Linked DNA regions of Homo sapiens: region 2 is linked to region 1. Evidence: promoter capture Hi-C in 16 types of primary human blood cells and fetal thymus (Javierre and others, 2016). All regions are on one chromosome and are shown on one strand. The core of a region is centred on a gene start or on the middle of the fragment in contact, and the rest is flanking DNA. Distances in the headings are between cores, read along the strand shown. Region 1 holds the start of MACO1 (macoilin 1). Region 2 has its middle 11 kb from the start of SELENON.

Region 1 (4,370 bases), core at 557-3,056:
ATTAATGTTAAGTTGGTCAAATATTTTTCAATAGCCAAAGGGGAAAAACTTTCTTTAATTCAAGAATGTATAGTGTATGTAACGTGAATTGAAGAGACCTTTCCTCCATCTATGTGTAGAAAAAATTGTTTGCTTTCACAGTTCAAGTTAAAATGGTCAAGTTCGATTCATCCAGCATAGATTAGAGTCTGTTTTACTCACTGCTCTATCTTCACTGATTAGAAATGTTCCTGGCACATAGTATATATAACTGATGAATGAATGAATTACTCCTATGCTCTATGGCTCATTTTATAAGAATATACCCAAGAAATTTTTACTTTGATTCCTTAATGCTTTTAAACTTGAAGAAAATCCCCAGTGTTTACATCAGTCAGCTGCTTGTGGAAAGCAATCATTCCACATCTGTAAACAAGAGCATGTGCAAGGTGTACAGTTATGTTAAGACAACTTGGGTGTCATCAGCTACCTCACATATTTCTTGAAATCCCACAGCTAGAGAAGCTAATTGTAAAACACCATGAGGACTCAATTAAGCCTACATCCACATGCTGAGAATTCTTCTTTGTAAACTAATTACTTCTCCACCGAAATCTGTATCAAGGCAAATACCATTTACAAGTAACATTCTGAGAAGAACCAGAAAATAACAGTCGTACACAAATCGACTTGGGGAAGCTATGATAGTAAGTTGCCCCATGAACCTGTTGTCTTTCTCTACCGGTGGACTGAATTCAATTTCTATTTAAAGGGACACTGCTTTTCTTGCGGATGAAAAAAAAAAAAAAGAGTTTGGAGAAAATCCCTTTTTAAAAACGTTCAAAGCAAGCTATCTGCTTGGAATTGTCAAAACAATATTTGCTGAAAAACTGGTCATCAGACCCTTCCGAATCTGGAGCAGGGCCACAGGGCATGATTTGGGGGTATCAGCTTCAGCCCTGGGTGCCAAGTTTGAGATCCCATATGGGAAGCAGAAGGTGAAAGAAGTGACAGCATGGCCCCAGGCCAGTATGCTGGCAGCTTGGGGGAACGAGGGGCCACAGTGGGCTCTCAACTTTGTCAGCCTCCCCCACCCCCCCGCGCTGTGGTCCACGCGCCTCCTGGCTCCGGCCGGCAAGCCCCCAGGCCACCGGGGGGCTCGGGGGCCAGCGGCGGCCAGTCAGAGGTCCCGGAAGCGGCCCTCCCGGCCCAGCGGCATGGCCGGGATGCTGAGGAACGCCGGGCTGGTTGGGGGCTCTCCGCCCCTCCCCCCGGCGGGCCCGGCGCTTCCAACGGCGGCGCGGCGGCTCCCTCAGCCAGCGCCCGCCGCGCCCTGCCCGCCCGGCCGGGCCGACCCTCGCCACGCCCCGCGCACCCGGGGCGGACCCCGGCGGGCGGGCCAGCGGCTCCGGGGCCAGCGCTCCTTAGGAGAGCCCCCGGCGCGGGCGTGCGGCCTACTCGGGGTTACATAACGGGGCCAGGCCCCTCGGAGCTGGAGGGGGACCGCAGGGCCCGCGCCCGCGGAGTGGGGGTGCAGCCGCTCACCTGCCGTAAATGCCCTCGGTGATCCGGTTCCGCTTTAGGGGGCGGCGGAGCTTACTGCAGTCGGCGTTCCGCCGCTTCATCCTCCCGCTGGGGGGCCGGGTGCCCGCGCCGCCGCCGCCGTCTCTCACCTCAGCTGCCGCCGCCGCTGGCCCGCCCCGCGTCGGGCCTGGACTCTACCCCTGAGGCCGGTCACACAGACATGGAGCCAGCACCCGGGGGGAGGGGGTAGCACGGGGAGGGGGGGCTCGGAGCCTCCTCCGCCTTCGGAAACAAAGAAATGACAATTCCGGGGCCCGCCCGCCCAGCACCAGCCAGCCGCCTGCCCCGCCTCCTCGGCTCCGACGGACGGCCCGGGAGGCCAATAGAAGCCACCGGTAAACCGCTGTCGGCCAATCCCAGGGCCCGCTGAGGCAAAACTGACTCTAGAACCCGCCCCTTTGAAGGACGGAAGAATGCGCCAATCATTATAGTGTCTGGGTCCCCGGCTGAGCCTATCAGAAAAGATTTAAATAGAGGCTTATAAATAGGCCCTATAAATATAACATCCTATATTACGCCTTGTTGCGAAGGTATGCTTTATTATTATTGGGTTGCGTTTCATTGTATTGTAATCCCTACTAGAGCATACCGTACGGCATGGCATTGTAGGCTCTCGTCTAGCAATGTATGAAATCGGAAGGCCCGGGTTTGCGGCATGTGCGGTGTCTGCGCTGACGTGCGCTTCAGCCAGTCGCGTCATTATGTAAGGGAGCATCCCAGGAACAGCGCCGGGGACCCTTCTGCGGATGCTGGAGAGCTCGGCCAGGCCGACCGCGTCAGCGCGCACCGGGGGTACGAATGACAAAGCAAACCCCACACGCACACAGACACACACCCTGCCAGCTTCCCGCGACGTGGTGACAGCGCGCCGGCCAATCGGAGGTGGCGGCCCCGCCCCGGGTTACGCCACGGGGCGGAGCCGTGGGGGCGCGCGACGTAGCGCAGAGATGCCCGGGGCGTGTGCGGCGGTGCGGCCCGGGCTCCACGTCCACAGGCTGGGCAGCGCTGTGGGCCCCGCGGGCGCCGAGTCCGCAGGACCCGCGAGGGCACTACCGCGAAGCATCGGCCTCCGGGCCGGGCCGGGCCGGACCGGGAGCCTGCTCGGCGGGTCCGGGCTCCTGCAAGGCGGGGACGCGGGGCCGGCGACCCTTCACGCTTCGTACTCATTGAGCGCCGATTTTATGCCAGGCACCGTGCTGGGTAATTTGCGTGTATTTGCTCATTTACTCCTTATAACTCCCCTGCCACGTACGTATGGCAAAGTAACACTTAGAAAAGTCCGCATGGTGTTTTTTTTTAAGAGAAATAAAAAGAATGTTTATCATTAGAGAAAACTGGGGAAAATGTAGGAAAGTGGCCGAAAAGGAAAAAACACCAATGAGTCTCATCACATTAACACAAATACAGTTGACATTTTATTGTATTTGCTTGTTTTCCAATTTTCCCCTATGGATGATAATGTTACTATTGCTATTAAATAGAATAGTGGTCATACTAGAATAGTAGTCATACTAGAATAGTAGTCATACTGTTTTTAACATAAGCATTTTTACATGTTTTAATGCAGCTTTTATAAATATTTCTGAAAATATTGCAGAATGTCCTATCCAGTAGCTTTATCAGTGTAATCCCTCAACGACAATGGGGCAGTTAGTCTTCCAGTGCATTTTTAAAACTTCCCAGGAAGGGCTGGGCGCGGTGGCTCACGCCTGTAATCCCAGCACTTTGGGAGGCCGAGGCGGGTAGATCACGAGGTCAGGAGATCGGAGACCATCCTGGATAACATGGTGAAACCCCATCTCTACTAAAAATACAAAAAATTAGCTGGGCATGGTGGCGGGCACCTGTAGTCCCAGCTACTCGAGAGGCTGAGGCAGGAGAGCGAGACTTTGTCTCAAAAAAAAAAAAAAAAAAAAAACTTCCCAGGAAGTAGATGCCATTTTGTTTTGTCCTGGGTTTCACAGAACTCTCTCTGGCCTGTAATCACCCCTCCCTTAATCAACATCTACCCCAGGGAGAAACTTTACACCAAATGCGTTGTCCTCAATCATGACTCTGTGTTACTTTCTTCTGCTCACAAACCTTCAAAGATCTCCCAGTGCCTGGAAGAGAAAACCCATTCTGTTTCGAAGGGCATCCAGAGCTGGTCACAGTGGGGACCCACCCTCCTTTTCCAGGCTACGCCAGGCAAGCAAACCGTTTTTCTCACTATCCTTAAATCCACTGCAACCGATCTTTCCCCCTTCCTGCCTCTGCCCCAACACAGTATCTCTGTCAGTGCCGCTTCTGGTGTGTGGTTTCTTAGGCAAGGCTTATCCATCCACTTAGGCAAAAAGCTTCTTGGAGATCAAATCTATACCCTGCAGAGATACAGTTAAGAAAAATGGCCAAAGTACTTGCTTTTTCAGAGTAGGGCTGAAATTCTAGCTTGGCCACTTACTAGCTTGGACAAGTTACTAAATCTCTCACAGTCTGTTTCCACTCAGGTTTGTTTTAAGGCTTGGAGGACAATGAGCCTTCAGAGCCAGACAAGCAGTAGGTAACAGAAAGTAACTGCTGTTAGCAGTATACTTGTTTCTCATGCCTTAATTCTACTTCAGTATATTGATCAAGTGGCACCGGGTGGCCAAGAAAACAAACTCTGTGAGCTCAAAGTTTCACCAAGGCCTGCCCATCATTGAGAAAGGATATGAACAGAATGCTATGTGTGGAGCAGTAGAAAAAAGCCTTCAGCTGCCAAGGCAGATTGGTTCACTGAGGAAGATACAGGTGGGAACCAAATCAAAATGGAAGCTTAAAGGCGTTGG
Region 2 (4,370 bases), core at 629-3,128, 360 kb before region 1:
TTTAAACTCTTCCTAGCTTCTTGCTGCTCTCAGATTAAAATTAAACTCTGTCTTAGTCCATTTTATGTCGCTATAACAGAAAACCACATACTGGATAATTTATAAAGAAAGGAATGTATTTCTAGAGGCTGGGAAATCCAAGGTTGGGGGCCTGCATCTGGCAAGGGCCTTCGTGCTGCGTCCACTTGTGGCCAGAGGCAGAAGGGCAGAAGAGTGCCAGAGAGCAAGCAAGCAAGCAAGCAAGCAAGCGAGGGCTGAATCGGCTTTCAGAACAACCCACGTTAATGCATTCACAAGGGCAGAGCCCTCATGGTCTAATTACCTCTTAACAAGCCAGGTTCCACTTCTTAACACCATCCAAAGGCAATTGCATTTCGACATGAGTTTTGGAGGGGACATTCAAACCACAGCAAGTACTTACCTGCCCACCAGGCACTGAGGGATGGAACCCCTTCTGCCGACTTCCTTTGACCCCCCAGACCCTCCCACTCGCTTACTGCCTTTCTGTGTCTCAGATGCAACAACACTTCCTGCCTCTGAGCCTTTGCATTCACTGTTCCCTCTGCCTGGAATGCTCTTTGCACAGCCTGTCACAAATGTCAGCTCCCCAGGGGCCATCCCTGACCTCTCCATCTCTAGTGATCTCCGTGCGAACTCAATTCCTGGAGAAGGTGGTCCATGCAGGTCCTAAGACCTGGGAAAGCCACAGTTGAAATTTTGTAACTTGTGCAAGACGATGGAATTATCCCTGAAGGTCTCTCTCTTTGAGAAGTGGCCCAGAGGGGTATGGCGCTGGCCCACATCTTCTCCGTTCTCTGCTGTTTACACTCTGTCCTTGCTCTGGTCCCTGGATGGCGAGGACATCGTGGATCTGGGTTATCTGGGTTCTGGGAGCATGATTTTGCTAGGATAACTGCCAGAGGAAAAGGAGTGTGCTGGTATTTTCTAACCTCGGGCAGCTGCTGGGAATCTCATCTCTATTGAGTCAGACTTTGGAAGAGCAGATGCTCCAGAAATTTGGGCTAGGGTTAATTCAACAGTGGAGAAGGTGAAAGTACGACATCAGCAATGTAGGAGTTGACCCAGGAGGTGGCTAGGGCTGCAGAGCCTGACCCTGGAGCAAGCCTGTTAGGGCCTCAGTTCCCTCCTCTATAAATGGGGGTGCCATCTTTTCCTGCCCATCTCCCTTCCAAAGTTTTGTAGACAGGATTTATCAGGTACTCCATGAAGAGGAAACACTAATTGGACCTCAAACATTCCTGGGCAAGCTCTCGGCATCTTCCTCAGCCCTGGGCCCCTGCCCGAGCATCCCCCACCACCAGACGGGTCCCTGGAAGACCTTGGACAGTCAACAAATCTTCATCCCAGTTTCCCAATTTCTGTAGATTCAGGGCTAGCTAATGGCAAAATGCTTCCTCAATGGGAAAAGCAGAAAACGTTCAGATTTATTGCTTTGAGATTTTGGTCTGTCTCCTGGGCCTGGTTGATGCGGTTTCCCCCAAGTTTCAGAGCATTTTGTTTAAAAAGAAGAATTTTTGACAGCAGTGTTTTGCCTCACATTTACACAAGGTTTTATAGTTTACAAAGAGGTTCACATCATAACAATCACTGCTAGGATGCACTGAGTTCTTACAAGGGGTGGGGTGGGGAGGCTCGATTAACCCTTGAAAGCACTTTCCTTTTCCATGGATGGAAAAGCAGAGGCTCAGAGGAGCTTAACTAAGGGGCTTGCCCAAGGCCACACAGTCCTGGAAAAGGGCAGGGCAGAGCTGAACACAGGTCCACCAGTTTCAAATGTTGTGCTTGTATGAAACCGACATGGGTTGTCCTCTCCTGTCGCACCCCTCTGCCTCTCTTGCCTTCAGCCTACCCACTGCATGCCCTGCTGCAGACAGTGAGTAAGAAAACACAAAACAAAACAAAACCAAACTCAGAGGCTTGTGCAGAAAACAGGCTGGGATGAGTATAAAAATAACCAGGTATGTTCAAGGGAATCCTTGAGTCCCTAAACAATGTATTTTCTGCTAACATGATTTATGTAGTGGTGCAGGTGATGGAGGTCTTTGCAGCACCAACAGGGTAGTTGCTTTCTGAGTTCTAATTCTGCACTGTCCAAAACAGCAGCCAGCAGCAATGCATAGCTCTTTAAATTTAATTAAAATGAAATGAAATTGGCCAGGCGCGGTGGCTCACGCCTGTAATCCCAGCACTTTGGGAGGCTGAGACGGGTAAATCACAAGGTCAGGAGTTCAAGACCAGCCTGGCCAAGATGCTGAAACCCTGTCTCTACTAAAAATACAAAAATTAGCCTGGAGTGGTGGCATGCACCTGTAATCCCAGCTACTTGGAAGGCTGAGGCAGGAGAATTGCTTGAACCCGGGTGCCAGAGGTTGCAGTGAGCCGAGATCAAGCCACTGCACTCCAGCCTGGGCGACAGAGCAAGACTTCGTCTCAAAAAAAAAAAAAAAAATTAGCTGGGTGTGGTGGCGCACGCCTATAGTCCCAGCTACTCGGGAGGCTGAGGCAGGAGAATTGCTTGAACTCAGGAGGCAGAGGTTGCAGTGAGCCGAGATCGCGCCACTGCACTCCAGCCTGGTGACAGAACGAGACTCTGGTCAATTAAAAAAAAAAAAAAGGAAATAAAATTAAAAGTTTAGTTCCTCCATTGCACTTGCCACATTTTAAGTATTCCAGATCCACATGGGGTGACCCTATTGGACGCCACTGTTCTAAGCCACCAGCAGCCTGCTCCTGTCTTATCCTGGCTGTCCTGAAGAATGGAGAGCTGTTGACATAGGTGGCAGGCACACACCTGTTTTAAGGTAGGTCGCTTTGCAGTCAAGGTATCTATAGATGCTATCCTAATACCTGAGCCCCTCTACTCCACTCTGGAGCAGTTACAGCTCCAGGGATGCAAATAAAAGGCAGAAACCAAGGCAGTGGCCACCAACTGGGGTCTTGCTACTCAAAGTGTGGTCCAAGGACTGGCAGCATCAGCATCTCCCGGGAGCTTGTTAGAGAAAAGCAGAATCTGGCTGGGCACAGTGGCTCATGCCTGCCATCCTAGCACTTTGGAAAGCTGAGGCGGAAGGATAGCCTGAGCCCAGGATTCTGAGACCAACCTGAGAAATGTAGCGACAAAAAAAAAATTAGCTGGATGTGGCGGCACACCTGTAGTTTCAGCTATTCAGGAGGCTAGGTGGAAGGACTGCTTGAGCCCTGCAGATGGAGGTTGCAGTGAGCTATGATGGCCCCACTGAACTCCAGCCTGGGTGACAGAATAAGACCCTGTGTCAGGAAAAAAAAAAAAAAAGGCAGAATCTCAGGCTCCATGCCAGAGCCGCTGAACATGAACCTGGATTTTAACAAGCTCCCAGGTGATTCCTGTGCACGTTTGAGAAGCTCTGACTTAAGAGACAGGCTGAGCAGGAACAAAACAGTGCTCCAAATATAGGAAACCAAACTGATATTTTCAGATACAAAAAATAGAATCAGCCCCCTTCCTCCAGTAGGGTGTAATTAAGCATTAGTCACAGAGGGCCGAGCATCTTTGTGCCACATGACCAATGACCATACTTCCAAGGACAGGCCCCCAGGGGAAACGCTGGGGGAAGCTGGCCCATTCATCTCTAGCACTTTCTCAAACCACAGTGGGGTCACCTCCTCAAAGCAGAGGGAACGGAACTGAGCATCCATCTTGGATGCTGCCTTTAAATCAGATTTTCCATTTTTGCTTTTCTTCCCAATGCATTTGGCTGGTCTGACCAAATAGCCAGTCATTTAAAGGGAGGCACCTAGAAAAGGACTGTGCCCTGCTCGTCCCCCTTCCCGGGGCCTTGAGGCTCTGCAGACCTCAGTGCCAGGAGCTGGGTGTTGATGAAGCTTTCTGGGAAGGAGCTGACATCACACCCTTCTATGAGGGAAGCAGGTGCAAATGGTGCTTCCATCCTCAGCGAGGGCGCAGATGAGGCTTAAAATGAGCTTGGCAGCCACAGGCTGACCCCCAGCTGGGGAAGGAGAGGGCTGCTTCAGGGAGAGGTTTGGGTGTTCAGATTCTGTGGCTTGCAAAGCTCTCTCCTACCTTCAGTGAGAGGTTTGGGTGTTCAGATTCTGTGGCTTGCAAAGCTCTCTCCTACCTTCAGTGAGGATGAGTCATCCCTTAATTCCTCTCTCCTCTCGGCCTGTCTTGAGTCGTACTTATTTTTATCCGTGGAATGGAGTTAAGTTGCCAAAAGGATGATATTTCTCCACCTGCAAGGGCCCTCCTGGAGGATACATTTTAAAATATTCATTTTTACAATTTCCTCCCAGCAATACAGCAGAGGACAGGAGAGGAGAGGTAGACAGCCGCACGGGCCTGGCGGGGGAGC

Evidence for each region. The method cuts DNA at HindIII sites, captures the fragments that hold promoters and counts their contacts. A CHiCAGO score of 5 or more calls a contact.
Region 2: a contact is called between a fragment that was not itself captured here and the fragment with the promoter of MACO1 in region 1, in 2 of 17 cell types (M0 macrophages and M2 macrophages). The highest score is 5.7, in M0 macrophages.

What each region holds. Positions count from the first base shown.
Region 1 is chr1:25,428,333-25,432,702 of GRCh38, reverse strand. MACO1 (macoilin 1) reads right to left here and starts at 1,806. Exons shown (of 11, transcript NM_018202.6): 1 at 1,525-1,806. The coding sequence starts at 1,604. It also overlaps a transcript of RHCE not described here. RefSeq lists silencers at 1,291-1,950, 2,341-2,780. The HindIII fragment of the contact is 6,345 bases long and covers 1-3,901 here.
Region 2 is chr1:25,786,870-25,791,239 of GRCh38, reverse strand. No RefSeq gene overlaps it. Among named protein-coding and RNA genes, the nearest start is that of SELENON, 11 kb to the left of the region's middle. The HindIII fragment of the contact is 4,012 bases long and covers 1-3,884 here.